Regions from separate parts of the Homo sapiens genome. Here all the other regions are linked to region 2. Evidence: promoter capture Hi-C in 16 types of primary human blood cells and fetal thymus (Javierre and others, 2016). All regions are on one chromosome and are shown on one strand. Each heading gives the region's core, a stretch centred on a gene start or on the middle of the fragment in contact. The rest is flanking DNA. Distances are from core to core; before and after follow the strand shown.

The links. The method cuts DNA at HindIII sites, captures the fragments that hold promoters and counts their contacts. A CHiCAGO score of 5 or more calls a contact.
Region 1: a fragment that was not itself captured here is called in contact with the fragment with the promoter of AGAP3 in region 2 in 1 of 17 cell types (non-activated CD4 T cells); the score reaches 6.1 in non-activated CD4 T cells.
Region 3: a contact is called between a fragment that was not itself captured here and the fragment with the promoter of AGAP3 in region 2, in 1 of 17 cell types (non-activated CD4 T cells). The highest score is 5.0, in non-activated CD4 T cells.
Region 4: a contact is called between the fragment with the promoter of ZNF282 here and the fragment with the promoter of AGAP3 in region 2, in 1 of 17 cell types (neutrophils). The highest score is 5.7, in neutrophils.
Region 5: a fragment that was not itself captured here is called in contact with the fragment with the promoter of AGAP3 in region 2 in 1 of 17 cell types (neutrophils); the score reaches 8.7 in neutrophils.

The regions. Positions count from the first base shown.
Region 1 is chr7:149,709,249-149,713,567 of GRCh38, reverse strand. No RefSeq gene overlaps it. Among named protein-coding and RNA genes, the nearest start is that of KRABD3, 3.5 kb to the left of the region's middle. RefSeq lists a silencer at 1-90. The HindIII fragment of the contact is 577 bases long and covers 1,583-2,159 here.
Region 2 is chr7:151,084,424-151,088,657 of GRCh38, reverse strand. AGAP3 (ArfGAP with GTPase domain, ankyrin repeat and PH domain 3) reads right to left here and starts at 2,183. Exons shown (of 18, transcript NM_031946.7): 1 at 1,586-2,183. The coding sequence starts at 1,916. RefSeq lists an enhancer at 628-787 and silencers at 1,008-1,277, 1,638-1,707, 2,074-2,163, 2,214-2,463. The HindIII fragment of the contact is 3,352 bases long and covers 73-3,424 here.
Region 3 is chr7:149,849,624-149,854,504 of GRCh38, reverse strand. ZNF862 (zinc finger protein 862) reads right to left here. Exons shown (of 8, transcript NM_001099220.3): 5 at 4,167-4,344. Among named protein-coding and RNA genes, the nearest start is that of ZNF862, 14 kb to the right of the region's middle. The HindIII fragment of the contact is 7,594 bases long and covers 1-4,881 here.
Region 4 is chr7:149,192,590-149,196,795 of GRCh38, reverse strand. It overlaps ZNF282 (zinc finger protein 282), which reads right to left and starts at 1,250. Exons shown (of 8, transcript NM_003575.4): 1 at 1,042-1,250. The coding sequence starts at 1,206. RefSeq lists an enhancer at 183-232 and silencers at 673-1,032, 1,153-1,474, 1,293-1,582. The HindIII fragment of the contact is 5,667 bases long and covers 276-4,206 here.
Region 5 is chr7:149,750,298-149,754,825 of GRCh38, reverse strand. No RefSeq gene overlaps it. Among named protein-coding and RNA genes, the nearest start is that of ZNF467, 21 kb to the left of the region's middle. The HindIII fragment of the contact is 1,777 bases long and covers 1,810-3,586 here.

The DNA.
Region 1 (4,319 bases), core at 622-3,121, 1.4 Mb after region 2:
CCACCGCCCACCCTCCGGCCCGGGATCCCTAAACGTTAAAACCCCCTAAATCAGGGGTCCCCAACCTTTTGGGCCAGAGCCCGGTTTTGTGGAAGGGAATTTTTGCATGGACTGGGAGGGGGGTTGTTTTGGGATGAAACTGTTCCAACTCAGATCACCAGGCATTAGATTCTCCTAAGGAGCCCGCAACCTGGATCCCGCATTCACAACAGGGTTCTGGCTCCTATGAGAATCCAGCACCTGCAGATCTGACAGGAGGCAGAGCTCAGGGGTAATGCGAGCAAGGGGGAGTGGCTGTAACTACAGATAAAGCTTTCCCTGGCTTGCCCGCAGCTCACCTCCTGCTGCACTGCCCAGCTCCTAACAGGCCAGGACTGGTACTGGTCCATAGCCCAGGGACTGGGGACCCCTGCCTTAAACTTAAACACCTGTAGAAAGAAATCTCTATCCAAGTAAGATGCACCTTTGTTTTAAGCTGTGCAGATTCTTGGCACCTCTTTGACTCAAACGTCCACTTCCTGGCTAGGCTTCCTGCCCCATTTGTGGACCATCAGTCGCTAAAAGCAGTTCACCAACATGAAATTTGCTGCATGGCCAATTATTTAAATTATGGAGACACTTCCTGGCACCCCTATCCCCCAAATTTTAGTTGCGCCTTTGACCCTGTAGACCTGTATTTACCTCAGCCCGTGTGTGTGCGTTAAAAAATAGTTGTGAAGACCTGTCCTGAACCAGGTTTATTGGATGGCTCTGGACACAGACAAAGGCAGGAGTGGAGCTGAAACACATCTTTAAAAATTCCTTGGCTGGGGCCAGGCACGGTGGCTCACACCTGTAATCCCAGCACTTTGGGAGGCCAAGGCTGGTGAATTGCTTGGGCCTGGGAGTTCCAAACCAGCCTAGGCAACATGATGAAACCCCATCTCTACAAAAAATGCAAAAATTAGCCAGGTGCAGTGGTGTACCCCTGTAGTCCCAGCTGCTTGGAAGGCTGAGGTGGGAGAATCTCTTGAGCCCAGGAGGCAGAGGGGGGTTGCAGTGAGCCAAGATCACACCACAGCACTCCAGCCTGGGTGACAGAGCAAGACCCTGTCTCAAAAAAAAAAAAAAAAAATTTCAATAATTCAGATTGGTTGTTTAGCAAGTTGATATTCAGTGGTTTAGCTTTTACCATATTTGGCTTTTGGCTATCTGGTCATTCTGTGAATTGACTTTTGGTGAACTAGTCGGCACTTTTCCCAAATGAATCTAAAGGCAAATTGTGCTGGCCAGTCCTCCATGTGAAAATGGCTGCAACTTTAAAATATTTTCTGATTTTCATTATTATTTCTTTTTCCATCCATGAGATTATTTAAAAGTACTTTTTAATTTCCAAATACGAATCTTTTTATGAGTTATTTTGTTTTTGAGTTTTGCCTTATAGTCAGAGAATGTAGTAAGTGATGTTGATTTTTTAGAATTTTCTGAGACTGCTTTGTGGCCAAGTGTGCAATAGATGTTTGAAAATGTTCCATGTTTGCCTAAAAGAGTACATATATTCTAATATTGGTGTAGGATCTAGTTAGAGCTGTAAAATCAAGCTTATCAATCATGTGGTTTATGCCTTCTATAGTTTATCATCTTTTTGCATTTGGAACTATCAGTTACTAAAGAGGTGTTAAAATCTCATATCAAGTTTGTGCATTTGTCAATTTCTCCCTGAATTTGTGAGAATTTTCGCTTCATGTGTTTGGAGGCTGTGTGCTTACAAATTTAGAATTGTAGTATTTTCCTGGAGAATTGTTCATTCTATTATTAGAAAGTAACACTATCCCTAATAATAGTCTTTGTCTATAATCCATTTTGTTTGATATTGCTGCAGCTACACTAACTTTATTTTGGCAAGTATTTCTTTGATATATCTTTTCCTGTCCTTTTACTTTCAAACTTTGTGTATATTTATGTTTCAGATGTGTGTCATATAAGAGCATGTAGCTAGATTTTGTTGTTGCTGCTGAATCCAGTCTGACAATCTCTATCATAATCATGAATCTACTGATTTGAAAGTTATGCTTTCCTTTTTTATTCATTTGGGGGTTACTCTGTAATTTTACACACATATTTGGTTTAATAGAATCTAATATTACTACTTCTGATCTTCTCGCAAATGATAGAAAGCTTTTTGAATATGAGTTTAATCACACTCTTCCCCTTCTGTCTTGTGTGTAATTATTGTTCTTTTTAGTTACATCTTGTTTTTAAGACTCTCTCCTGATATTTGAAGTCATTGTTTTTGTTTTATACAATCTATGCTGTTTAGATTTACCAATGTGCTTACCACTATCTTTGTTCACTCTTTTTTCTTGCCTCTTTCTTCTTCCTTCTGGGTTCAATGTTCTTCCTGAAGCAGAACTTTTAAAATTTATTTCAGCAAGGATATTTTAGAAGTGGATACTTTCAGTTATATAAAATGTCTTACATTTTTCTCACTCCTGAATGATACTTTAGCCAGGGAGAGAACTGTTTCACACTTCTAATATTTTATTCCATTGTCTCCTGACTTTCATTGTTGCTATTGAAAAGTCTGCTGTCAGTCTAATTATTCCTTTGCATATGATTTAACTTCTCTGGCTTCATTTAAAATCATCTGTTTGGCCGGGCATGGTGGCTCACACCTGTAATCCCAGCATTTTGGGAGGCTGAAGCGGGAGGATCACCTGAGGTCAGGAGTTTGAGACCAGCCTGACCAACCTGGAGAAACCCCGACTCTACTAAAAATACAAAAAAAATTAGCCAGGCATGGTGGTGCATGCTTGTAATACCAGCTACTCGGAGGCTAAGGCAGGAGAATCACTTGAATCCAGGAGGCAGAGGTTGCAGTGAGCAGAGATCGTACCATTGCACTCTAGCCTGGGCAACAAGAGCAAAACTCCATCTAAAAAAAAAAAAAAATCTCTTTATCTGTGGTATCATGAAGTTTCACTGCAATGTGGCTAGGTATGGATCTTTTATTTATCTTTCTTGGAACTCGTGAGTCCTAAATCTGAGGTGTCACATCTTTGTACAAGTCTGGAAAATTCTCAGCTATTATATCTTTTAATATTGCCTCTTCCCAAGCTGGGCATGGTGGCTCATACCTGGAATCCCAGCACTTTGGGAGGCCGAGGCAAGTGGATCACGAGGTGAGGAGTTCGAGACCAGCCTGGCCAACATGGTGAAACCCCGTCTCTACTAAAAATACAAAATTTTAAAAATTAGCTGGGTGTGGTGGTGGGTGCCTGTAGTCCCAGCTACTCAGGAGGCTGAGGCAGGAGAATGGCATGAACCCAGGAGGCGGAGCTTGCAGTGAGCTGAGATCGTGTCACTGCACGACAGCCTGGGCAACAGAGACTCCGTCTAAAAAAAAAAAAAATTTAGGCCAGGTGTGGTGTCTCCCGCCTGTAATCCCAGCACTTTGGGAGGCCACAGTGGGCAGATCATCTGAGGTCAGGAGTTTGAGACCAGCCTGGCTAATATGGTGAAACCCTGCTTCTACTGAAATACAAAAAATTAGCCAGGCATGGTGACACACACCTGTAATCCCAGCTTCTCAGGAGGCTGAGGCAGGAGAGTTGCTTGAACCCAGGAAGCAGAGGTTGCAGTGAGCTGAGATCACGCCACTGCACTCCAGCCTGGGCAACAGAGCGAGACTCTGTCTCAAAAAATAAATAAATAATAATAAAATAAATATTGCCTCTTCCCCATTACACTTTCTTCTTGTGGAATTTGTATTTGACCTTTGTTGGACCCCTTTATTCTGCACCATCTCTTTTAGCTAGATATTTTTCATTTTTTTAGGCCTTTGTGCTTCATTCTTAGTGATTTTTAAAAGATTTACATTCTTTCATTCCTAAATCTCTCTTTAGTTTTGTCTAATGTGTGTTTAATCTGTTAATTAAATGATCAATTTTAGTGACTGCACTTTTCGTTTTAGATGTATCTGCTTTATCTTTAAAAAAAAAAAGCATAGGTGTCCACGCTTTCAATTCCTCATGTCTTAAAGATTTTTAAGTATCCTTACTTTATAGTATCTATCTGGTAACTCTATGGCCTGACTTTATGACTTTATTTTGTTTGGTGGCTCTCACTCATAATAGGCTGGTTCCTTGTATATTTTATTACTTTGAATTGTGAGGCCGTCTTAAGCCAGGCTTTATCAGTAGGAATCCTGTGCAGCCTGGCTTGAGGGTATGTCCTTCATGGTTTGTGTTTGCTTCTTTTGGATACTCTAGAATCATTGTCAGCCTGAGTACTTTTTTTTTTTTTGAGACGAAGTTTCACTCTTGTTGCCCGGGCTGGAG
Region 2 (4,234 bases), core at 934-3,433:
TGTGCCCCCACCCTCCTGTGGCCGGCCCACGAGGCTTGTCGCCCTCCAGAAGGAGCTGGGGGAAGGTAAGCTTGGAGCAAATCAGGAATGTCTTTACTTCCTCCAAGGACAGTGAAGCTGCAGCAACGATGTCTCTCCCGCCTCCACCCTCTTCAGATCTAAGAGGAAAAATTGGTCATCTCCTGTCTTTGGGGCCCAGGGCTCGCACAAATGCCATCTCCTAGTCCCCAGCCACAGCGGTGATTCAGGCCATTTACTCAGATCCACGTTAATGAGTTTTTTCTGTCACCTAATTAGTTCACAGAGAACTCAGCCTTGAGAGGAAAGAAATAAGAACGGGTTGGGAAAAGGCAGAAGGAAGTCAGACTGGCATGTCACAACAAAAGATAGAACCCAGCACCACATGGGGTCCCCCCAGACCCAGTACTTCTTCCCCGGCTATGGGGACCTCTGAAAGCAGAAAGGGAGGTGTTCAGGTGCACTATCCCCCAGAACCTCAGGCAAGCAGATGAAGCTGGGAGTGGGGCCCTAACCTTAAGGCCCAAGTCAGGGACAGGCCCCTGCCCATAACTCCATGTTATCGCAAAAGGCCTTGGCTCTCACTGCATTTCCACTGAGGCCAAACCCACCACCTGCCGGTGGGCGTCCCCTTTCAAACAGAGCTGGGGGAGGAAGCAGATGGCCCAGGGTGAGGCCCATCTGTCCGTGCCCGCTCGAAGGTCACCATGCCACCGGGGTGCCTGCGGGTGCCTCCAGCACCCACCACACCAGGGCTTGCGAGGCATCTGCCAGCAGCGTGCCACCACTTCCTGTGCCCTCAGCGGTCGAAAGTCCAGGGCCTAAGGGCCCAGAGAAAAAAGCGCTAGGCAGCGCAGTGGCCGGGGGTTTCCGGTCCCCGACTCCGGGTGCGGTGTCCCTGGCGGTCGGTCAGCACCCGGCTGCCCAGCAGCTGCCTCCAGACCGAGGAGCCGCGGATCCCCGTCAGGCTCATGACCCGGCCAAAGCGCGGATGGACCTGCCGGCGCCTCCCACGCGGTCGCTGAGCCTCAGCCCAGCGCCAGGCCCGGCCCGCTCCCGCTTGGCCGCCGCGGCGTAGGGGGTGTGCGTCGGGAGAGGGCGCCGCGGCGAGCGCCACCCTCCGGGCCTGCGGGCGCTGGGCCCGGGAAGGCTGCCATCCACTAACGCGAGGCTCCGATCCCCCGCCCCACTGCGGAGCAGGGCCCGGGCAGCGGCTAAGAAGCCTCCCCGGTCACGACCCCACCTCCCCGCAGCTGAAGCCCTCTGCCGCGCCCACCTTCCCCGGCCAGGCCTGGACAGATCTGGTCCCGGCCCCCCCAAGCGACACCACCTTCGCGCCCTGGAACACAGTCAGCAGAAAACCCCCAACCCCAAAGTGTCCCCGAACGAGATATGGCGAAGCTGCCCGCCGGTTCTGCAACACAGATCGGCAAACCTCGTGGCCTGGTCCTCAAGCGCGCAAGGACCCCCGACAGGGAGAGCATGGCCAGGCACGGCCTGTGGAGCCCTCGGCCGGCGCCGGAGAGGCCACTGCGCCCCGGCTCCCGCAGCCCCCGGCTCCGCTCACCCTCGATGGAGATGACGTGCTCCCGGATCTGGTTCTGCAGCGCCAAATCCTCGATGCGCTCGATCAGGTCGTAGATGGCGTAGATATTGGGATGCACGGACTCGAAGCGCTGGATCTCGGCCCGGATGGCCGCGGAGTTGGAGAGCGCGAACTGCTGGGGGGGCCCGCCGGCCAGCTGCTGCGAGGGGCCGCCGCCGCCCCCGGCCCCGGGCCCCGCGCCGCCGAACTGCCCGCCGCAGACGAGCTGCTGCGCGGCAGCGCCGCCGCCCCCCGGAGCCGCCAGGCTCTGCTGCTGCTGCGGGCTCTGCCCCCCGCCCGCCTGGAAGTTCATGGCTTCGGAGCCGTGGGGCCCGAGGCGGGCCCGGGGCGGCGCGGCGGAGGCGGCGGCGGCGGCGGCGGCGGCAGCGGCGAGCGGGAGCGCGGGGCTGGCGGGGCCGGGACTACTGGGCTGGCGGCGCGGGGCTAGCGCATGGAGCCGGGGGCCGGGGGCCGGAGGCCGAGGCCAGGAGGCGCCGCCGCGCACGCTGTGGCCGCCGCTGCCGAGCGCTTCCCAGCGCCGTGATCCCGCTGCCTCGGAGCAGCCTCCAGCGGCAACAACAACGGGACCGGGAGCGCGCGGCCCAGGCCCTCCCCCCGCGTCATGCGCACGCACCGCCGCCCCCGCCGGCTCCGGCACACGCAGCCCGAGCCCCCCTCCCCGCCGCCCCCGCCCCTCCTGCGCGCCGGCCCGGGCGCCCCCGCCCCTCGCTCGCTCGCTGGCTCTGCAGCCTCCACCCCCGAGCCGCGCGCTCCAGCCCTGGCGCCCCGGCCCCTCCCACTCAGCCTCGGCCCTTCCGCCTCCTCACCAGCCCCCACCCGCATTGCCTCGAGGGCCACCCTCGCGGAGGGGACAGCTGCCCTGGTCTCCTCCCGCGCCCGGCTGTCGCTTTCGCCTCCCTGCGCTGATCTGGGCGGGGTGTCGGATCTCTAGGCAATGCCCAAACAGTGCCCTGCGCCTGAGGGTGCTGCTGACCGAGGCTGATTGGCCGAGGAGTCCGCCCAGGCCCAGCTGCTCCTCGCTTACAGCGTCCCGCCTTCAGTGCGGCATAGGCTCCCCTGTCCCCAGGCTCCGAGGTCAGCCCTAGAGACCACCCTGCTGCCGGAGTTTTCTCCCTGTCTCCCTGCCCAGGCTCTCCACTGCCGGCTGCAGCAGTGCTCTCCTAAAAGACCCTCCCCCTGCCGGACTTGGGAGATTAGCTAAATGCTACCCGACCCCATTGGTACATAGAGGAAGAAGAGGGAGGGATGAAATAGTATATGCCTTTCTCCCCTACTCATCCCATTGGAGAGACCAACCAAAGCCCACGTGGCTCTCAATTTTTCTTGTCCTCACCCCTTGTCCATCCTGTCCTTTCACTCCCTCTAGGGCCAGGGAGCTCCCTGAAATGTCCCAGTTCCTCTGCAGTCCCATTGCCAAAGTGGGCTGCAGTTCTGTTAGCCCCCTCCCCCCCACCAACACACACACGTTTCCTAAAACCTACAAGAGGTGACATTTGCAGAGGCCGCAGCCAATAAATCTGCCAGAGATGTTGCAGGGTATCTGCTACCCCCAGATATCCTAGGGCATCAGTGACACACATCGTCCTTCTTACGCACACTTCCACTTCCCTGGCCAAGCTGGATCTTTTCCCAGCATGAAGCTGTCCACTGTTTGATTACCCACACAACTCAGCCCCAGAACCAACCCAGTCACTATTCCCGAGTTCCTTGTACCTTCCAAAGCACCTGGTGCAAGCTAATCAACACACAGGGTCTCCTAAGCTCCTGAGGAACCTGTGTTTCTATCTCCCTGCATAAGCTTAAGGATATCTTGTGCCCTCTCTGGGTTTCATCTGCGAAATATAGTGGTTGAACATAAAACCTAGTTCTGATGTTGTATAATTCTAAAAGTAACATCCAACATCTCTTTTAGGTGCTTAATTAGAATTGACAGCAGGAAGTAGCACCAGGTATACCTCCCAAGAGAGACACTAAGAGCAAAGAGCTCCTCAAATGTGTTGCCCCAGCAACTAGCACACACGTGTTATAGCACTGTTGGGCTGTTCACACGTCTAGCTCTTCTACTAGTATATGGAGCCACATGAGGGCAGGAAGAGGGTCTGATTCACCATTTTATTCCCAGTATCTTGCACAATGCCTGGGATATAGTGTGTGTGTGTGTGTGTGTGTGTGTGTGTGTGTGTGTGTGTGTAATTTTTTTTGAGACGGAGTCTCACTCTGTCACCCAGGCTGGAGTGCAGTGACTCGATCTCAGCTCACTGCAACCTCCACCTCCCGCATTCAAATGATTCTCCTGCCTCAGCCTCCCGAGTAGCTGGGATTACAGGCGCCCGCCACCACGCCCAGCTAATTTTTGTATTTTTTTTTGTAGAGACAGGGTTTTACCATGTTGGCCAGGCTGGTCTCGAACTCAGTGATCCGCCTGCCTTGGCTCCCAAAGTGCCAGGATTACAGGCGTGAGCCACTGCGCCTGGCCATAGTACATCTTTTAAAAAATATGTTAGTAGAATAAATGAATGAACAGGAGGGATGGAACTAGAGGTAGGTTAGTTCTGTATGGTATCAATCTAGACTGACATTCCTAAGGCAATATTTGGGCCACTTGCTCCC
Region 3 (4,881 bases), core at 1-2,500, 1.2 Mb after region 2:
TAACCAGAGTTATAATGATCAAAACCAGGAAACTCAACCCTGATATCATACTATTATCTAATCTAAGTTCATACTAAATTTCTTCACTTGTCCCCAAAATGTCTCTATAGCCCAGCATCTGTCCTAGCATCATGCACTCAAGTTGTCACACCTCTTCAGTCTCCTTTAATTGAGGTAGTTTGCCAGCCTTTCTCTGTCTTTTTTTTGATCGGGACACTTTTGAAGAGTTTTGTACCAGGCATTGCACTCACTGAAATTAGAACAGGAAGATTTCATGTTATTTGAGTGTGATAAGAAAAAGTTCCAGGCCCTGCCTAGATTTAACCCAGAGGGTGAGAAAGAAAAGGCCCCCAGAGCTGACACGCTCAGCGGTGAACGGGAGGATGCAATTGTTTTATAAGCGCGTCCTGCTGGAGTCCGTCCCTCCTAAGATAATGTCCACATACGTTATTTAGAAATAATGCGGCAAATTACTGGAAGAAACAGCTACAAGATTCTGGGGAACAGGACTTTGTAAAAGAGAAAGGTGGGACAGGGGACTGTCATTTTTCTTTTTTTTTTTTTTTTGAGATGGAGTCTGGCTCTGTCGCCCAGGCTGGAGTACAGTGGCACGATCTTGGCTCACTGCAACCTCCACCTCCCAGGTTCAAGCGATTCTCCTGCCTCAGCCTCCCGAGTAGCTGGAACTAAGGGTGTGTGCCACTACGCTCGGCTAATTTTTGTATTTTTAGTAGAGATGGGGTCTCGCCATGTTGGCCAGGCTGGTCTCGAACTCCCGACCTCAGGTGATCCACCTGCCTCAGTCTCCCAAAGTGCTGGGATTACAGGCGTGAGCCACCGCACCCGGCAGAAATATTTTTAAAGAATAATTGAAAACAAACAGGGACCAAATGTTCCCAAATCTGTTTGCCTCCATTTATATTCCTTTTGGGTACTGTCCACCTTTGACTGCCGCTGGCGCCACTACCCTGGCCCCAGGAATACCGTACCCTGATGGTACCTCTCTGAAGCTGCAGCCTACATCTTATCAAAACCTCTTCTTTTTGTTCCCTTCCAAACAAATGAAATGGAGGGGAATTTTCAGCGTTTTCTATGACTTAGTAATGGAAAAAGAAGGAGGGCACATAACTGTGGCGAGTGCGTGCACACACCCACAAACACCCACATTCCATAACAGTCCATAACAATGGTTTGGCCTACAAAGGACTCCTCATCCTTCCAGGCTAACTTCACCAAGGGCCAGCAGGCCCTATCCCATGAATCCATTCTGCAAAAGCCACTCTAGCCAGGTGCAGTGCGTGTGCCTGTAATCCCAGATACTCCGGAGATGGAGGCAGGAGGATCGCCTGGGCCCGGGAGTTTCAGTCCTGACTGGGCAATATAGAGAGACCCCATCTCAAACAAACAAATAAATAGATGCCACTCTAGCCCCTCACCTTGGTTCTTCTTTCTCTAGCTCCGGCTGCCCCCACTTGGAGGCCATCATCACATGTCCTGCCGTGGAGAAGCTGGGGGACTCGAACTCCCCTGCTCATCTTCTTTAGGGCCCTCCCACTCAGTGTTGTTTTCCATGAGTGACACAACGCCTTCCCCCAGCTCTGTAAGGCCTGGCTGTAGTTACCGACTTCTCCTGTGGACAAGAAACTGCCCGCCTGCAGTGAGTGGCCACTCAGCATACGATGACACCTTTACAAATAAAAGCAAGGGCTACCCACATAGTCCCTATGTTGGCCTGTCTATTTCCATTAATGACAAATATTAGTTTCTTAACAGTGGGATGTAATTGAGATTTCTGGCTGCTTTTTGGGAAGAAGCAACAGACTTCATCAGATATGGCAAGCCAGGTGCAGTGGCTCACGCCGTAATCCAACACTTTGGGGGCTAAGTCAGCAGGATCACTTGAGTCCAGCAGTTTGAGACCAGCCTGGGCAGCAAAGTGAGACTCCATCTCTACAAAAAAATTTAAACATTAGCCAGGTGTTGTGGCATGCGCCTGTAGTCCCAGCTACTTGGGAGGCTAAGGCAGGAGGATTGCTTGAGCCCAGGAGTTCAAGGTTACAGTGAGCTATGATGGCACCACTGCACTCCAGCCTGGGTGACAGAGTGACAGCCTGTCTCTCTCTCTCTCTCTCACACACACACACACACACACACACACACACACACAAAACTGAGTTCACCCCAAGAAGTTGTTTTGTGTATTAAAAGATAATGCAAAATAATATTTGGTTTTCAACTCTTAGAGCATTTGTTATGGAGGGTAAAGTGTGGGAAATAAAAAAAAAAACAAGCCAAAGTAAAAATAATAATAACAATTAAAGAATCTCCACTATGTTTTAACACTACTTTATATCCCAATTTAATACTATTATATACCACTTTTAAACATACAAATAGCTTATGCCAGGCCCTGCCCATAGTCCCCAGGCTCCTTAAGATGCTTCTATATCTCAAACATGAAGAACTGTTTAAATTCGGGGATAGTTCAAGGATAACCAGAGATCCAATTAAAGTAACTGAAAGGAATCACACACATGCAACTCCGTTTCTAGACTCCCATACCTGTCTCAATTTCACAGACAACCGGAGAGGCCAGGCCCACCCCCTAGAAAGCCTTTCTGATTCCTGCCTCTGACCCTCGAGGAAAATGAGTTCCCTTCCCTCTGATTACATTTTTTGTTCATCCAAATAAAATTTAAAGACCTTAGTTAGCTGAGATTTCCCTACTGCCTAATTTACGTAAATGAAAAAGAAACTGATAAAATGTTTAGATCATGCTCTGTCAACACACAAAACGTGAGGAAACAGGCACAGGCTAAACAATCCTGGCCAGCCCTCCCTGCACTGCTGCAGAAGCTGCCCTGGGCCAGCAACACCATCGCCTGGTACCTTCACAATCGCCCGGGGGCCTCACAGTGAAACTGAGTCGCTAGTGCCGATTACATTAAAGGAAAACCCAACTTTTTGCAGAGGGTATGCATTTTTAAGACAGGTGTGAATTTCGCCCTCACTCTCACTGCTCTTCAGCACAGCACGGGCAGTGATACTCTGAGGGGATACACCTAACCTAGGGCATGACAACAAAACCTCTGTCACCACAAAATAAATAATTTTAGTCACTTCTGAATGTTTGGGAAGCCATTTAAAAATTACGAACAATGACAAAAACATGTTGGCCAGGTGTGCTGGCTCATACCTGTAATCCTAGCACTTTGAGAGGCCAAGGCAGGTGGATCACCTGAGGTCAGGAGTTCGACACCAGCCTGGCCAACATGGTGAAACCCCGTCTCTACTCAAAAAACAAAAATTAGCCTGGGAGGCAGAGGTTGCAGTGAACCAAGATCACGCCACTGCACTCCAGCTTGGGCGACAGAGTGAGACTGTCTCCAACAAAAAAAGTTGTCTTTCCATCTTGATGCTTCATAAGAACCTTGCTAATCTGCCAGAAAGAGGCAAAGAGAAGATAAAACAGCAGATGCAGGAGAGGAGAGCACCATCCTGAGGAGCAAGAAGCACTGCCCTCTTCCTAATCTGCCAAGGTCCAAACCCCATGACTCCCGTGCTGAAGGCTGCCAACCCTTGCCGGCGCCTGGCCAGGATGCAGGAGCCTTAGCCCTGGGCTGCACAGATAGGGGTGGCTCTGCCAGGCCGTCCCCTCCATCATGGCTCAATGCCCTTCCTCCTTCTGATCCACCTGGTTTTGAACTCAATTAAAACATTTCCTACTCTATAAAGGCTTCCTGATTCCTCCCACCAATGCCCAGGAAATCAAATCCCTCTTCTTCAGTAGCCCCGGGTACTCTTCTGGAAGCTCTTTTATGGGAGACTGTATTATTTTATAGTTTCTTATTAAAATGTCTGTCTCTCCCACAAACGTGCTAGGCCCTTGAAAGCAGAGACCATGGATCAGCTGTGTTCATCTGGCACATAGTAGGTACTCCAAAATGTTTGGTGGGGGACGAATGGATGAACAGGTGGGTGGATGAGAAGGTGATAAAGCACAGTTACCCCAAGCAGGGGAGTTATGAGGTGCAAAAGACAGGATCGGTCTCTGCCTACACACAGGGAGGGGGCAGGAATGGGAAGATAACCACAAGCCACAGCTCCCCTTGTGGGCTTCCCAAGTCAAAGGAGGGTGGTGAATAAGAGGCTCGGTGCGTCTTTACCCAAGGATGCCAACAGCTCGTAGTTCATCCGCATCACGTCTCTGTACAGCTCCTTCTGCCGCTTGTCTAGCATGCCCCACTCCTCCCGGGTGAAATACACTGCCACATCCTCGAACACCACCGGCAGCTCCTCAAACACCACAGGAACCTCCTCCGACAGCCCCTCTGCAGAAGGGTCCTGGAACAAAGAGCAGCGGCCACTCAGCACCGCCTGCCGAGCCAGACTCCCACGTGACACTTCTGGGGCCTTTGGAAGCCCTATTTCTCCTGGGAAGCTCACCAAGAGGCCCAGATGCACTCAGAGGAATTAATTTATCCACTGAAAGTCAAAGAATCAAATTCAGGAGGCCAGAATTAGTAGGTAAAAGCCAAGTGAGACTTGGTCAGATCCTAGGATCTCCTGGGCGGAAATGAAAGCGTGTGGAAAGAACAGGCAGCTGGGCAGAGCCTCTCACTGCATGCTGTCCTCAGAGTCCTGAGAGCTGCCTCCTGGTCACCTACAACTAAAAGGTGACTGTGTGCCTCTAGGAGCACCTAAGATTTCCCAATGGGATGGGAACAAAGAGGTGGTCAAAAAAGCTAAAGATGCTTATGACCAGTGACTGGTTTACACACGCCTCACTGCTGAATTCAGATGATAAAAGGTTACATCGGTTCATTAGCTTCTAATACTAAAAAATATCAGGAACAGGAAAAGAAATGAGCTATGCTGTTT
Region 4 (4,206 bases), core at 1-2,500, 1.9 Mb after region 2:
GGTGTTTCCATCAAAAGCACCCATTCCTCCATCACAGAGGCTCCACTCCGCCCTAGCCCACAGAAGGGGACAGAGTCCACAGTAGAAGTTAAGAAAGTCCCGGGGCCCAGTTTAGTTTTCTCGGGTTTGAAGCCCTAACCCTGAAAATGATCAAACACAACACAGCAGCCCCTGGCTCCCTCGTTAGCACCTGGCTGAGAGCCGCGTGGTGAGCAGAGGGGCCCCTGAGCAGCCCAGCCCCAGGGTGGGCCCAGAGAGTCTTCCCTGGGCAAGCTTTCAGGCCTCTCTGAGGATCCACCTCCCCTGGTTTTATACCCAATTCTGGAGCACCGGTTCTGCCCACGGAGATCATCGATGGAGCCTGAAGAAATGCCTGGTGCTACTCTCACCCGTCAGAGACCCTGAGCTCTGGGACCAGGCAAGGGCTCAGGAGTCTTAAAAGCTGCCCAGGCCATTCCAACATGCGGCCAAGTTTGTCAACCGCAGGAAAGACCCCGAAGTCATCTCTCCATGGCCCCCTCCCTGGATCACACCCGGTGCAGGGGGAGAGTGAATTACTCATTACACTTGGTGAAAGGTGGTAATCAAACATTTAAAAAATATCCCCGTCAAATTGGCCACCGTGTAAACACGAACGAGGCATTCACTTCTGCGGCCGGGCGGAAGCACTGCCCGCGAAGCTCTCCGCCGGCCGGGCGCAAAGGGAGCCCCAAGCCGGGGCTCAGCCACAGGGTCAGAGCTCTGCCAGGTCCCGGAAAGGACGGTCCCGGCCCCCGCCCCGCGGGGCCTCCGCACTTGGGCCCGGCGACCGCTGCTCCGCGCCGCGCGGGCCAGGCCTGCCCTTCCGGGCCTGCGTCGGGCCCGCTCCGTCCTGCCCGCCGCGCAGCCCGGCCGTGCCCCGCCCGCCTCGGGCCTCGCCTGGGCGCGGAAGCTGGGAGGGCGCCGCAAGGCTACCGGAGGACGGCGCGGCCCGGTCCCGCGGCCCAGCCCGCGCCCCGCCCCCACGGCAGCGCGGCCATGGCGCCGGCGGGGTTCTCCCACCTGCATGGGCGGCATTCCCTCGGCCATTTCCCCGCGCAGCGCCGGCTCCTGGTGGCAGACCTCCTCCGGGGGCAGAGCCTGGGCCCAGCTCCAGCTCCCGCTGTCCAGCCCCAGGCCCTGGATGCCCAGCTGCTGAGGCTGCGGCCGTGTTGACACAAACTGCATCCTGGGAGTGCTGTTCCCCGCTCGGGTCGGCCAGGGAGAAGAAGAACGTTTTCCAGGCGCCTTCCCCCTCTCCGGGGCCGGACAGCTCCATCTACAGCCCGTAGGAGCAAACAGTCCCCTTCGGCGGCGCTCCCCGCCCCTTGGCAGCCCGCGCGCCAGCCAATGGCCTCGGAGCTCCTGCCCGCCTGCGGGGACCTACCGGGGCCACTCCCGGACTGGGGTCGCCACCGCCCCAAAACTGAGAGGCGGCGGCCTCGCCCAGGGGTCAGGCCCCCTCAATCTGGGATGGCCGACTTTAAAGGCCCAAACTATGCGAGGACCTGGACTGTGGGCTTGATTACTGTTAATTCTGCAAATGTATTGGGCATCCCGGGAGAAAATAGTGCCTGACCCTTGTGAAAATTTTGCAGGAGTAATTCTGTCTTCAGACACTTTCTTCTGGCCTTCTGCCTTCCCTCACTCCTTTGCAGACTTTACCTCCCACTCCCCTTCTTCCCAATCCAGATTTACCTGGACCCATCCCAGAGCTTTTGCACTGTTATGGATGATAGAGAAGTGATTCATGTTAAGGTGTCAAAAGAGGGCTGAGCTCTTTCTCCCAGGTAAGGTGCAGTGCATTTTAACAGTGGCCTCTTCAAACACCTTGAAATTGGGTTGGGCGTGGTGCCTCACACCTGTAATCTCAGCACTCTGAGAGGCTGAAGCAGGAGAACGACTTGAGCCCAGGAGTTCGAGACCAGACTGAGCAACATATTGACACCCCATCCCTATAAAAAATAAAAATTAGCCGAGCGCGGTGGCTCACATCTGTAATCCCAGCACATTGGGAGGCTGAGGCAGGCGGATCACCTGAGGTCAGGAGTTCGAGACCAGCCTGGCCAACATGGTGAAACCCCGTCTCTACTAAAAATACAAAAAGATTAGCCGGGCGTGGTGGCGTGGGCCTATAATCCTAGCTACTCGGGAGGCTGAGGCAGGAGAATCGCTTCAACCTCCGAAGCGGAGGTTGCAGTGAGCCAAGATCGCGCCAGTGCGCTCCAGCCTGGGCAACAGAGCGAGACTCCATCTCAAAAAATAATAATAAGGCCGGGCGCCGTGGCTCACGCCTGTAATCCCAGCACTTTGGGAGGCCAAGACGGGCGGATCACGAGGTCAGGAGATCGAGACCATCCTGGCTAACACGGTGAAACCCCGTCTCTACTAAAAATACAAAAAAATTAGCCGGGTGTGGTGGCGGCGCCTGTAGTCCCAGCTACTCGGGAGGCTGAGGCAGGAGAATGGCGTGAACCCGGGAGGCGGAGCTTGCAGTGAGCCGAGATCGCGCCACTGCACTCTAGCCTGGGCAACAGAGCAAGACTCCGTCTCAAAAAAAAATAATAATAATAATAATAAAATAAAAAATAAAAATTACCCGGGCATGATGGCTAATGCCTGTACTCCTAGTTACTCAGGAGGCTAAGGCTGTAGGATTGCTTGAACTCAGGAGTTGGAGGTTGCAGTGAGCTGTGATTGTGCCGTTGTGCTCCAGCTTGGGCGGCATAGCAAAGATCCTGTGTCAAATAAATAAATAAATAAACCTTTAAATCGGGCAGTCATGGTGGCTCACACCTGTAATCCCAACACTTTGGAGGCCAAGGCTGAGGCCAGGAGTTCAAGACCAGCCTGGGTGACACAGCGAGATCCCTTCTCTACAAATAAAACCCTTTAAAGGCAGGTCAGTGTCACTTTGAAACATCAGGCCAGGTCAGAGGAGGAGCCAGGGAGAGGCCAGTATAAGCTGATGAAGATGGAGGAGGGGAAAATTCAGTCATTCCAAATGTATTTATTGAACACCTACTGTGTGCCAGGTACTGTTTAGGAAGAGGGTGAGCTTTGCAGTTGCATACACCTGAGTTTAAATCCCAAAATCACCACTCACTAGCTATGACTTTGAGCAACTTATTTAACTTCTCTGAGCCTCATTCTCTTCATATATAAATGAAGAAAATAATGGCAACTCTATTTTAATGTTGTAAAATTAAATGAGAATTGTGCCTGGCACATAGCGAGCATTCTGCAAAGATAGTTACCCCCAAAAGGTGTTTTTGTAATTATTCTCAAAATAGTATTTACTTTGTTTTCCTAAAGGACCAGTCCCTGTCTTGTTAAGGAAGAGATCTCTGAGGCTCATCACCTTGTGTGGAAGCAGACCTGCTAGTACCTTTAAGTTCCACTGCACTTCATAAAATAAAGGACATTATTGGCCTACGTGAGACATGTGCTTAGAAGGCCATATTCAGAAGAACAGTTACCAAGTACTTTCTCTGCTAGGCACACTTCTAGGATACAGAAATGAGTATTCACAGACTTAAGATTATCCTCAAGGAGCTTATAGGCCAGTAAAGTCCATGCTCCCAGAAGTCAGTGATTTCCTTCCCTGCTTCCTGGCCCTGATTGTAAACATCACGTCCACTTTTATTAGAGGAACCAGGCAAGTTAAGTCTGAAAAGCTCTAGGCAAATTCATTTCCACCAGCGAGCCACATTTCAGAACACGTCTTCTGCACTGTAGATTATCAACTATCTTTTCTCTTTCCTAGAGGTGATAAAGGAAGGACTAGGTTAGTCCCAAACATTTATGCTATCTTTTCTGTATAAAGCCTTTAAAATGACTTCCCTTCCTAAGCACTTAACTAGTTATAACGATGTCCTTTGTTACATAGTAAGACATCGCTGTAGTGTGTCTACTTCACATTTCTCCTTCACAGCGGGTGGATTTTCATGCAGCCATCAACACTATCACCCTTTGTGACCAGAGTAGTTGCTCAGAGCTAGAGGTCCCATTCATTGTTAAGATGATCCCAGTACTTTGGGAAGCCGAGGCGGGCAAATCATGAGGTCAAGAGTTTGAGACCAGCCTGGCCAATATGGTGAAACCCCATCTCTACTAAAAATACAAAACTTAGCCAGGCATGGTGGTGTGCGCCTGTAGTCCCAGCTACTCTGGAGGCTGAGGCAGAAG
Region 5 (4,528 bases), core at 1,449-3,948, 1.3 Mb after region 2:
GAGATGTGTCATATCATTCAAAAAAGCCAAAAGAGGCTGGGCACTGTGGCTGACACCTGTAATCCCAGCACTTTGGGAGGCCGAGGTGGGAGAATCACTTGAGGCCAAGAGTTCAAGACCAGCCTGGGCAACATAGGGAGACTCCATTTCTAAAAAAAAAAAAAAATTTAATTACCCAGGCATGGTAGCAGGCCTGTAGTCCTAGTGACTCAAGAGGCTGAGGTAGGAGGATGCCTTGAGCCCAGGAGTTTGAGGTTACAGTAAACCAAGATTGTATCACTGCACTCCAGCCCGGGTGACAGAGCAAGAACTTGTCTGAAAAAAAAAAAAAAAAAGATAAAACATAAACAGTTTTGCTTTGTGTTACTTTATTCTTCGTGTGATTTTTAAATTTAAATTTTTCCTAGTCCTATAACAGTAAAATAGCTTTGATAGGACAGTAAACAGTTGACTTTTAGGAGACACTAAGAGCAACTGGGAACTCAGCCTTTTTCCATCAAACATGACTGTTTTGTTTGGTGTTTCTGTAAACTGTGTTTATGTGTCGGGGGTGGTGGTGTGCACACCAGGATTTACTTGTAGAGAGACATAGATGAAGGAAGGAGACAGCCTCCCGAGGAAGATGTTGCCTATGCTGGGGAGAGGGCTTGAAGGGGAGCCGGGGTGGGGGTTGGCGAGGTGGGTTGAGGGTGGGAGGGCTTCTGCTAGTATGTTCAGGGAGACAGATGGGCCGACTGAAGGCAGACAGGTTGGTGAGTGCGTTCACGGGACATGCTGGTTTCCAGTAGTGAAAGATTCTTTCTGCTCCTGGGACTCAAGAACCTGCTCGTAGTTGTTAACTCCAGGGTCCTGGGGAGGCCACCCATGCCCCACAGGGAAGAAAACTTCTTCACTCACTTACTGATCCTTGAAATGTCTTTTAACCAGAGACAAGTCTTGTATTTCACAGTCAGAGGGAGTATGCAAGACCCCCAGAAGAGGGCGCACGGCCACAATTCCACGCTGGTGGAAGGACTGGAATCCTGTCCTTCCCTGGGAACCCTCACCTGGGGAAGGATGAGTGAGTGTCACACTGAGGCCTCCCACAGTGGAGAAGCAGCAACGGAGAAGGAGGCCCCAGGAACCCTAAAGACAGAGACTTTAAGGTCGGGAGGGTTTCACAGAGGCTTTAGGAAACAGATTTATCCAACTGCCACAAAGGACTGAGCCTTCAGGCGTGGGATTAGGTCAGCCTTGGGGCAGGGGACATTCTTGGTCAATAGCAGGACTTTGATTTACGTAACGGGCTTATGCAATGTCATTACATAACATCATTAGGGGCATCGCAAATCGGATTCTATTTCAGGCTCTACAGGAGCCAGACCCAGGGCTCCCCTCCGGCCCAGCAAGACAGGATTCCCGTGGGCCCAGTGTCCCTGTCCTCGCTGGGATTTTCTCTCTTGAGATTTCACTGTGGGGCTTCCAGGAGAACTCCTAAGGCCTCAGGATCCTCTTTCTCCAGAATGATGGAGCTCGCGTCATAGCACGCTCATCCTTTGCAGATGCCTGCCCTGCTGCCCCTGCTGCCCCTGACCCTCCCAGTACTGTCCCCCCAAGCCCAGGCCAGTGGGCAACCTTCTCCTATCAGGTCCCCCTCTGACTTCTCCCCAACTCCTGCTTCCCCATCTATCCTCCAACTGTCAGGCTGATCTTCCTTATAACTTATTACGCCCCAGCTTAGAAACTTCTGCTCATCTGAATATCCAGAGGCCTTAGCGGTTGACACATTGTGCCACATTATTCTGTGTGTCCCTCTGGGGGTGGCAAGCTTCCCTGGCACAGAGCAGAGTGCCCACCTAGCCAGTGTGCAATACATGTCTGTTCTAACTCAAGGCTCTCTACAGTTGGCCCCAACAAACTTTTGAAACTTATTTTCCAAACCTCCTGGGTACACACCCTCCCTTACACCAAGCGGTCTTGTTCCTGTCTCCGGGCCGTGTGGTCCTTCCTGCCTCCTGCCCCGGCCTCCCTGGGCTTCCCCATCACAAAGTGCCTACTGCCCTGACTTCCCTTTTAAATCCTACCTATTTTTCGAGCACAGATGGGGGCCACCTCCTGGGGGTGTCCTTCCCCAATGATCCCAGCACACAACAATCTCCTCCTTTAAGCTGTCATGGTTCCTCTGCTTCCCACCTTACCAGATGTCGCCTGCAGTTGTTGGGTGTGTCCGCGTGTGCCTAAAATGTGTGAGTGCCTCCTGTGACTGAGGCTCCTACTTAATTCCCCTAAGCCCCCTTTGGTACGGGGTTGCTGTCCTCACTTCTCAGGTAAGGAAACCGGGGTTTAGAAAGGTTACACCCTTGTAGGAGCCTCATCTCTCCAGGCCCACTGGGAACATCTCGAGGGCGGAAGTCGTGTTTTTTTGTCTTGGTATTTCCAGGACCTGGCACATTTGAACACTCACAACACGTATGTTGAATTGTACAGGTGGAAGAGGAGCCTTTACAAGGCCTACCCATCTCAAAATCCCTCCCCTACCGGATAATCTGAGTGCCTAAAATCCACCCCTGCAGAGTTATAGCTGTGAACTAAGACAGGGTGACAGCAAACACAAATCCCAAAGTTAATAAATTCAGCGATCTATTTTTTCATGTGGCTGCTGAGATGGTTAAAGCTAAACTTACTGCTCAAATGCAATTATGTGAGTTAGATATCTGGTATGTTTCACATACTCTGCATGTCCCATTTAAAGCCTCACTGTAATATACCACCTTCGTTGGCCGTTACTGCAAAGTATATGTATTAGATGAGAAGAGAGCTACCTGAACTAAGAAGAGAGCTGAGAACCACACTCAGGAAAGCAGACAGAAAGGGGAAAGCAGGAATGTCAGTGTTGGAGAGGCCTGAGAATTTTCTAGGCTGTCGGTTCCTAACCTTTAGCAAACCACCAAGCATTTAGTTGTTTAAAGCTCCCTTCAGAGTAATGTGCATAGAAACAATGATTTGCACGTAATTTTAGAGGGTATGTGGACACCCTCTTTAAGCCCCTCTGTGGGCCCACATGGTCCGCAGAGCTGGTTTAAGAACCTCTGCTCTCATCCTGCATGACAGAACGGAGGCCTGGAGGAGAGAGGTTCTGCTGGGGCCTGAAGGGTGGGAGGGAGGGAAAGAGGAAATCCATGATTTTGCAGGGCAGGCCCTGCTGGCTAGTTTCCGGTTCTCCTTGTCATCTTGTGCCTGGGCTGCCCCTGGCACAGGAAGAGCCTGTGTGGCCAGAGGAACCTGCTTCCCCTCCACCCAGCTCTGCATGCCCCTCCCTGCTCAGCGGGCTGGGGAGGGTGGAGGTCCCAGGGTCCCACAACTAAGGTGGGCTCACATTCTGGGACCAGATCAGGACTCACAATTACCCCACAGGAGACTTCCACCCATCCCTCTCCCCAACCCAGATGGAAGCACACTTGCCTAGCTGGGCTGGAGGCAGATGACACACCTAGGGGGCCTGCCGGGGGCCTGGGTTGGGAACAGAAGCCCCAGCTCTGCACTCTGAGAGCTGTCCCTGAGTTATCCCCCACCCCTACCCCTGTGCAAAGGATGCTAATGAGAAGCTTTTCATTTCGCAGCTGCAGCAGCACAGCGTGCACACACTTGTCTCATTTTGCTGTTTCAGGAAAGAAAGCAGAGCTTGCTCACCCCTCGCCCCCACTTCTATTCCCAGTGAAGGTCACGGCTTCTCCTCAGCCCTGATTGGCAGCAGCCTTCTGAGGGCCAATGCTGGTGACCAGCAGTCAGGCTTCAGAGAGGGGCCTTCTGAGCTTTCCACAGCTCTGTGAGGAGATGTCCGAAGGGAAACATTGCAGAGTGGGACAAGGGGAGAGTCCAGAGATAAGAATTATCTATGTTGTTTTGTTTTTTTTTTTTTTGAGACAGAGTCTCACTCTGTCGCCCAAGCTGGAGCACAGTGGCACGATCTTGGCTCACTGCAGCCTCTGCCTCTTGGATTCAAGTGATTCTCCTGCCTCAGCCTCCTGGGTAGCTGGGATTACAGGCACCTGCCACCACGCTTGGCTAATTTTTTTTTTCTGTATTTTTAGTAGAGACAGGATTTTACCATGTTGGTCAGGCTGGTCTCAACCTCTTGACCTCAAGTGATCTGTCTGCCTTGGCCTCCCAAAGTGCTCAGATTACAGGCCTGAGCCACTGTGCCCAGCTGAGAATTATCTATTTTAAACCAAGTAGGTATTTAGGCACTTGAGAATACCCAGGGGAAAAATCTCACATCGCTGCCCGGATCTGCCTTTTGCAAATATTGCTTGTAAATTAAATGAGCTGGACTTGGGAAGTGGCAAGAAACAACTTTATTTTCTTCTTTCATCGTCGCATTCAAACCCATTCTGTTGTATCTGCCTTCTTCGCTATATCACTTTTTTATTGTGTGTAACAAATCACTCCGAAATTGAGCCACTTAAAACAACCTTTTATTTGCTTACAGTTCTGTGGGTTAGCAGTTTGGACTGGGTTCAGCAGAGTGGTTTTTGGCTGGTCTCACCTG